2 separate regions of the Homo sapiens genome follow, and region 2 is linked to region 1. The links are contacts of gene promoters, found by promoter capture Hi-C in human tissues and cell types (Jung and others, 2019). All regions are on one chromosome and are shown on one strand. The core of a region is centred on a gene start or on the middle of the fragment in contact, and the rest is flanking DNA. Distances in the headings are between cores, read along the strand shown. Region 1 overlaps DLG1-AS1 (DLG1 antisense RNA 1). Region 2 holds the start of SMCO1 (single-pass membrane protein with coiled-coil domains 1).

Region 1 (5,615 bases), core at 2,230-4,729:
TAGTAGAGACAGGGTTTCACGATGTTGACCACGCTGGTCTTGAACACTTGACCTCAGGTGATCCACCTGCCTCAGCCTCCCAAAGTGCTGGGATTACAGGCGTGAGCCACTGTGCCTAGCCTAAATAGTGATTTTACATGGAGTTTTGTCATTAGGAGGAGGAAGAAACTTGACTTTTTCACTCTAAGGGGATCTTCTATTTGTTTCCAGGAATTTTAGGGACTCACATACATATTAAATTTGGAAAGGTTCTGAGAAGTAATTTTAAAATTGTCTATAGGCAGAACCACATTTAAATCTTCCTAGTGAGGCTGGGTGCAGTGGCTCATGCCTCCAGACCTGGCTAATTTTTGTATTTTTAGTAGAGATGGGGTTTTATCATGTTGACCAGGCTGGTCTTGAACTCCTGACCTCAAGTGATCCACCCACTTCAGTCTCCCAAAGTGCTGGGATTACAGGCGTGAGCCGCCATGTCCAGCCTCAGGTTGAAAGCCTTCTCATAATGTGTGGTGACCCTTGGTTGGCTCCTCCTGTTGAAAGCTGAGCTGATTGGAGGCTCTGTGTATATTTGAGATATTTGAGAGGCTCATTGATTGGTCTGCATTCTTTTTTTCTGACAGATTCTCACTCTGTTGCCCAGGCTGGAGTGGAGTGGCTCGATCTCAGCTCACTGCAACCTCCGCCTCCTGGGTTTAAGTGATTCTCCTGCCTCAGCTTCCTGAGTAGCTGGGACTACAGGCACCCACCACCACGCCCTGCTCATTTTTGTATTTTTAGTGGAGATAGGGTTGCACCATATAGGCCAGGCTGGTCTCGAACTCCTGATCTCAGGTGATCCGCCCACCTCAGCCTCCCAAAAGTGCTGGGATTACAGGCCGTGCCTGGCCTGGTCTGCATTCTTGAAGGGCAATAAAATGACCAGCTTGACATTTTTTTTAAGCAGCTTTATTGAGATATAACTCACACACCATACAATTCACCCATTTAAACTGCACAGTTCAATGGCTGTTAGTATATTCACAGAACTGTGAGTCCAAAACCACTGTTAATTTTAGAACATTTTTATTAAAATAAAAAAACCTCATTCCTTAGCCCTCACCTTCCAACCCCTTCCATCCCATGCTCCTCAACCCTAGGCAACAACTAATCTACTTTTTCTCTCTACAGATTTGCCTTTTCTGGATATGTCATCTAAATGGAATTTGCAGTATGTGGTCTTTTGTAACTTGCTTCTTTTACTCAGCATAATGTTTTCAAGGTTCACTCATGTCATAGCATGTATCAGTACTTCACTTCTTTATTTTGCTGAATAATATTATGTTACATGGGCGTACCAATTTTATTTTTCCATTTACCAATTCATGGGTATTTGCGTTGTTTCCACTTTCTAGCTATTACGAATAATGTTGTAATGAATATTTGTGTATAGACACGTGTTTTCAGTTGTCTTTGGTGTATACCTAGGAGTGGAATTGTCACATCCTATGGAAATTACATGTCCAAGTGTTCAAAAAACTCCCAGACTGTTTTCCAAAGTGGATGCACCATTTTACAGTCCCAGCAGCAGTGTATGGGGGTTCTGATTTCTCCACATCCTTTGCAGCACTTGTTATGATGGTAACAGCTGTGTCTTTTTGATCAGAGCCATCCTTGTGGGTGTGAAGTCTACCTCACTGTGGTTTTTATTTGCATTTTTCTGATGGCTTAGGCTTTCGTTGTAAGCCTTCCAACTATGAGTATCTACTGATCTTTCTGAGGCAATTCCATTTTTCTCTCTGAAGGGTACTCCAGCTATGGCTAGCAGGAAGAAGGAGGTGGGTGTGAGGGAGTTATCTCTGTTCAATACACAGATTTTCCCTTAGTTTCCTGTACTATAATGCACCACCATCTTCCTCTGAGTCTAGTAGTTCCAAATCTAAAACTTCTCTTATTCTCCAATAAATCAAATTCTTGCCTTTTGGAGGAGTGAGGGAAGATGGTCACCGGTCTGAATATGTGGGAGCCTGGGCATCTAAATTCCTTTTTTTTTTTTTTTTTTTTTTTTGAGATGGAGTCTTGCTCTGTCACCCAGGCTGGAGTGCAGTGGCACAATCTCAGCTGACTGCAACCTCCGCCTCCCGGGTTCATGCGATTCTCCTGCCTCAGCCTCCTGAGTAGCTGGGATTACAGACGGGCACCACCATGCCTGGCTAATTTTTGTAGTTTTAATAGAGATGGGTTTCACCATGTTGGTAAGGCTGGTCTCAAACTCCTGACCTCAAGCAATCCACCTGCCTTGGGCTCCCAAAGTGTTGGGATTACAGGTGTGAGCCACCGCGCCTAGCCACTCTTCTTTTTATTAAGGATGGAGGAACAAGTTTCTCTTTGTTCTAATATTTTTGGAGTCTTTTTCCAAGAGAAAAAAAGAATAGAGATACAGCTTTATTCTGCTCTTTTGAACCCAAGCTTCTCCAAATTATTATGGTAGCATTTCTTATTAAATATTTACTTCTCTCTTATTCTTAAATTGCTTTGTTCATCTTCATTAGTAATTGGTAAAGGCCCATCCCTTTTAAATTTTTGACTCATTGTCTCCTACTCCCTTCGAGCTTGGCTTTGTTTATTCATGTGGTAATTTGCAAGTTGAAATGATATCCAACTTGGGAAAATTTTGCAGGATTTTTAAAAAGCATATTTGGAAAAGTTTCTTCAACTGCCGCCCAATTTATTTATAAAAGGCAGAAGATGCTTTAATCACAAATATTTAATCTCAGTTGATAAAATTGTCTTGGGAAGAAATTAATTTAATCTAAAGAAAATTTAAATAGAAAGCAAGATTTAAATGATTCATTATCGTTACCGTTCTTGTGAGTGTAAAATAGAAGAAAATAATAAAGGAATTTAGGGTTATACAACATGAGGAATAGGAAAATGACAGCCCTAGTGAGTGTCACTTCCCAAAAATGAAAGACTGGCACACAGGTCTTTGTTTTGGAAGGTTGTGGCAGTTTTCCATCCTAAATGAGATTGGTCACTGGACACAGTCCACATATAATTATGAAGAATCTTCTGGCTTCTCCACTTACCAGAATTCTATTCAGGTCATATCTCAGAAATGGAATACAAATGACTTCCTAAAATTCTAATAGCATTTCTTCAAATTCCAATTAAGTTTCCAAGTTTATCTTCTCTACCTACATAAGGATAATCTGACTGAAGGGCCCTGGCCAAAGCCTTCTGTGAACAGACAATGGTCATTCTCTTGGCAGGGGGTGGGGTGAAGAGGTTGTTTCATGTAAGGAGATTTTAGTATAATCCTGAGGATTTCCATATGGGATCCTACGGTTCTGTCAATACCACAAGTTCTTCAAAAGCAGAAAAGCAAATTTGGTTAAACTTAGAAACGTATCTCTAGAAAAGATTACTAATTTCTCCTTACCCCCAGCCCCTTCTCTCTAAAAGAAAGATGGATGGTTCTGGAAATGTCAGTAGCTTTCTGCCATCAGGGAAAAGTCCTCTGATAATTGTGTGCCGACGTTGTCTGGGAGCTCTTCTGGAGCTTACTTTACGTGCTTCTCAAACATGGGGATGGGAGTTGATGGGATCTGAGGGCACTTCCAGTTTGGATGTCCCGTCATCCAGAAAACCTCTCTCATACTTAAGGAAATGAAATGAAGGAGAGAAGGAAGCTACAGGGTATTTTAAATATATACCTTTGCATTAAAAAGAAACCCAAAAAACTCCGAAACAAAAAACCAACCCGTTTAGTTATAACATACCACCAGGGTGCGGATATGCATTTCTTCAAGGCCCTATTTCCATCAAAACTGTCTCCATTGTTAAAGGCATTCAAATATATGACAAGTACACTGTACAACAGACTAGCCCATGACTTGTGCCTTATTTTATCTGAATCTCACTCAGCCTCTCTCTTTTCTCTTTCGCTTAGTCTTTCTCTATCTCTGTCTCTCTCTCACACACATATACACCACTCTGTGCCCAGTGTTTTTTGTTTTGTTTTGTTTAATTTAGAAAAGGAGCCAAGTAGAGAAAAAGCAGCATAGATTAATCGAAGAAACAATGAACTAATGTTCAGCCCAGCTCCAGCCAGCTGTGGGGTCCTAAACCAAGTTATCTCAGTTTCCTCTTCCTCTGTGCTCTCCTTTGCAAAGTGGGAGACCATAACCAACGAGTTTATCTTATCGGTTGCTGTGGACCTGCAGTGAGTTAAATCTGCCTTTGAACACTGTATGAGAGGCTATACCACTCTCCGGATAGACCAGTTTACACGGGAGGCAGTTATTAGTCCTATGCTGATTTAGTACTCCATTATACCACACTCCAGGAATCTTAGGGTGGCTCTTCCATTAAAAAGCATTAATTCAGTGCCTAACTACCTATCATGGAGATGGTCAACTGTCCACATTTTAAAGGGAATTGGTTTCAACCTGTAGCTTTTATTCTGTTAAGAATTATCTATGAGAAAGAGATCAGTCTTGGTACCACCAAAACTGGGTAGAACGAATTCTTGATGTAGACTAAAGGGTGCTAATACCATTTCAGTATTCAGCAGGGACTGAGGTTTCAACAGCTTAGAACTGTGGTCTCAGAGGTCACGTGGTTCAACCTTATGTCCTGGGTATCTACCACCCTCTGACACAGAATCCTTGCTGGCTTCATTCAGCACCTTCCTGATTAAAAAAAAAAAAAAATTTCCACTACCTTGAGGCAGCTCTTTGGAATTTTGGACAGTTTCTGACAACTCATGTTAAGGAAAAACTTCCTGTGTTTGTCCATTGGTTGAATTTTCATCCATTGACTGTACTTGCCCACTGGGTACACAGAATAAGCCTGTTTGATGACTGCAGCTCCCTGGAGACTTCTGTTTTTCCAATGAAATGGCCCTAGATTGTACAGTTGTTTCCTGATTGCTGTGGTTACTCTCTTCTTTCCACATGCTGGTTTGTTCAGATTCCTTTAAAAGCGTGCTGCTAAGCAATGCCCCCTAGGCTCTCATGGAGGTCTGACCAATATGTCCACTTTCAACATACTTGACACTGTTCCTCTTCCTGCAGCCTAAGCTGGCATAAGCTTTTTTGACAGCATTAAATCCTTTCCTTTTAGTGATTGCCTTGGCACAGGCAGCATGCTGCTACCCTGCTGGAGTGAAAGCAAAAGATGCAGCGGAGTCTGGCAGGACCTGGACACCTTCATAGATTTATAAGCTGGGGCCTAGATGGAGGAGAAGACAAAGACAGAGATGTGAAGCTGCAAAGGTGGCTTGGGCAGGATGGTTGGGAAGGGAAGGGTTGGAACTTAGAGACAGTATCTTTGACATTGACTCTCTGACATTTCAATAAAAGAATGGGAAATCTGAGCCTTTCCCCATGGTCTTTGACTCCGAAGCCTTTTAAGCTCTTCAAAAGGCAAGTTAACTTGGAGCTGGAAAGTGAACAGCTTTACCTGCTAGTATTTTGTTGAAGTAACTTCTTCTATTCGTCTATCTAACTATCGATAGACAGACAGATAGGACAGATATAGATAGATAGATAGATAGATAGATAGATAGATAGATAGATAGATGATAGATAGATAGATAGATATAGTGTGTGTGTATATATATATATATTTAATGA
Region 2 (2,729 bases), core at 230-2,729, 790 kb after region 1:
ACCTGAGCCTAGATTAATCTTCTAGAACCAACAGCTCACATCTGTCCAAACTCCTTACCAAGCTAGCTAGAAGCATCCCCTCTCTTATAAGCCTTATGTGCTGTCTCCCTGCTAGTATGTTCCTTGAGGACAAGGATTTCGCCTTACTTATCACTATATTACCAGTGCCTGGAATAGTGCTGCTCATCCATTCGTAGGTTTTATACATTCAATTAATATCTATGATGCTCAGTAAATATTGAATAAGTGAATAAAGTATTCAGTGAAAGAACAAATACGTGACATGGCTCTTACCAGTTTAAATGGTGTGGTTATTTTCTTTTTCTTATATGAATCTTTTGCTCAAAACATACCTACTCATTGTTTCCTGAACACATCATTTACTTTGCCACCTCTGTGATTTTGCTCACACAATTTCTCCAGTTCGTAACACCCTTAACACTCTTCTCTGATAATCAAAGACCTTGACCTTTAAGGCCAAGCCAAGTACCACCTTCAGGGTGAATATCTCCCCAAGGACCCAAGATTTCAGTGACTTAGTCTCTCACCTTCTATTATTTTTATGGTCTCTATCTACTTAGCACACATCCCATATACATTTTCTATTTAAGGATATATTCTTTCTTCCCAACTAGATTTTAAATCTCATGAAAACAGCAGTCCTATTTTATTTCCACATTTATATTCAATTCCTAATCTAATATATATATAATTATATAAAATTATATATATATTTTATATACGATATAAATTATATATTATATATAATTATATGTATAATTTTATATATAATTATATATATATATATATATATATATATATATATATATATATATCCTATCCTCTTGCCCGGGCTGGAGTGCAGTGGCATGATCATAGCTCACTGCAGCTTCGAACTCCTGGGCTCAAGCAGTCCTCCCACTTCAGCCTCTTGAGTAGCTGGGACTACAGGCATGCACCACCACTCCTGGCTAATTTTTGTATTTTTTGTGGAGACAGTCTCGCTCTGTGGCCCAGGCTGGTCTTGAATTCCTGGGCTCAAGCAATCCTCCCACCTTGGCTTCCCCAAGTGCTGGGATTACAGGAGTGAGCCACCATACCCAGCCATAACAAGTATTTAGTAGTTTCTAATGATAGTTAGATTTTTTGCTTTGATATCATCATCATAAAAGATCTGGGGCACTCTTCAAACCTAATTTAGGTTGTAATTGAATAATGAAGCAGTTAAAATATGACAGTAATATTTCCATCAAACTTAATCCTATACGTTACGTTAATGTATCTGTATATACATTTACCATAATGTACACAGTCATTAATTATACATGGTTGTTGCTGTATGTTAATGTACTATGGTTCAGTTTTCAAAGGCAAATGTTATAGTGCATTCCAGGACACCTGTGTCCACGAGATAAGTTCTTTGAAACTATATTTGGATCTGCAGGCTATTAAAAGCTTCTTGTACTGAGTGACCTTTCAGGCAGAATGTAGACTGAGCGCTCCTGCTACTGCTGCCTGTTGCTGAGAGGAAGACCGCAGAAAATTCTGGATTCAAACATTTATTGCTTTTTTTGTTTTGCTTTGTTTTTGTTTTCTTTCCTTTTGCCTTCAGAAGATGAACAATGAAACCACAACCCTGATATCCTTGAAGGAGGCAATGAAAAGGTTGCTGAGGGCTATAGGGAGGGAGCAAGCATGGGTCTGCTATTCTGGGAAGATGGGTAAGAGAAGAATGAAGAATAGAAATAAAGAACTGCAGACATGCTCATTAGAATTCTGTCTCTGTGGCCGGTGCGGTGGCTCACACCTGTAATCCCAGCACACTGGGAGGCCGAGGTGGGCGGATCACAGGGTCAAGAGATTGAGACCAGCCTGGCGAACATGGTGAAACCCTGCCTCTACTAAAAATACAAAAATTACCCAGGCATGGTGGCGGGCGCCTGTAGTCCCAGCTACTTGGGAGGCTGAGGCAGGAGAATCACTTGAACCCGGGAGGTGGAGGTTGCAGTGAGCCGAGATCGTGCCACTGCACTCCAGCCTGGCAACAGAGCAAGACTCCGTCCAAAAAAAGAATTCCGTCTCTATTACAGTGGTTTAAGTCTTCCAGGCCCAAACCTATGTAAATTAACAATAAAGAAAAGTCTGCTCCCAGGTGCTGTAACTCCATTGAATGTATGCATATGCTAAATCCTAGATTTACAAAAATAAGTAAAATGTGGTTTCTGCCCTCAAGGAGCTCACAGCCTGTAGGAAAGAGAAAAGTTTGAAAAACATTTACAATTTAATGTGACTGACCTTACAATGGTGATGTTCCTAAAGGTCTATGCGAACATGAAGGGAGGATCAACCAATTTTGCCTTTGACACTAGAAAAAGGAACTCTTCATATAGGGTCATTTAAGCTGGATCTTAAAGTGCAAGTAGGAGCTTATGAGGGAGAAAAATATGGGAAGGCATTCTAGGCTGAGGAAACAGTGCATATAAGCCATATGTAAGCTTGGAACCACATAATGTATTCAAGCAGCAACTAGATGTCTCGTGTAATTGGTAACTAGGATGGGTGAGGGGACTGGTGGAAGACAGGAGCAAAGGGTGAAGGCCCTTGACTTTCCTGCTGAGGAGATCCAGTTTGCCTCTGAGTATATCACTGGGCAAGCCAGGATGACATAAACCATTTGTAATCAGTTGAGTCACAGAATCGGAATTGTGTTTTAGAAGAATGTGTCTGGA

What was found. Contacts are between HindIII fragments. The study calls those that stand out against the background at their distance.
Region 2: a contact is called between the fragment with the promoter of SMCO1 here and a fragment that was not itself captured in region 1, in 1 of the 25 tissues and cell types used here (dorsolateral prefrontal cortex).

The regions. Positions count from the first base shown.
Region 1 is chr3:197,302,124-197,307,738 of GRCh38, reverse strand. It overlaps DLG1-AS1 (DLG1 antisense RNA 1), which reads right to left. Exons shown (of 3, transcript NR_038289.1): 3 at 3,988-5,211. Among named protein-coding and RNA genes, the nearest start is that of DLG1, 6.3 kb to the right of the region's middle. The HindIII fragment of the contact is 5,403 bases long and covers 778-5,615 here.
Region 2 is chr3:196,514,096-196,516,824 of GRCh38, reverse strand. It overlaps SMCO1 (single-pass membrane protein with coiled-coil domains 1), which reads left to right and starts at 1,479. Exons shown (of 3, transcript NM_001077657.3): 1 at 1,479-1,665. The coding sequence starts at 1,616. The HindIII fragment of the contact is 4,365 bases long and covers 1-2,729 here.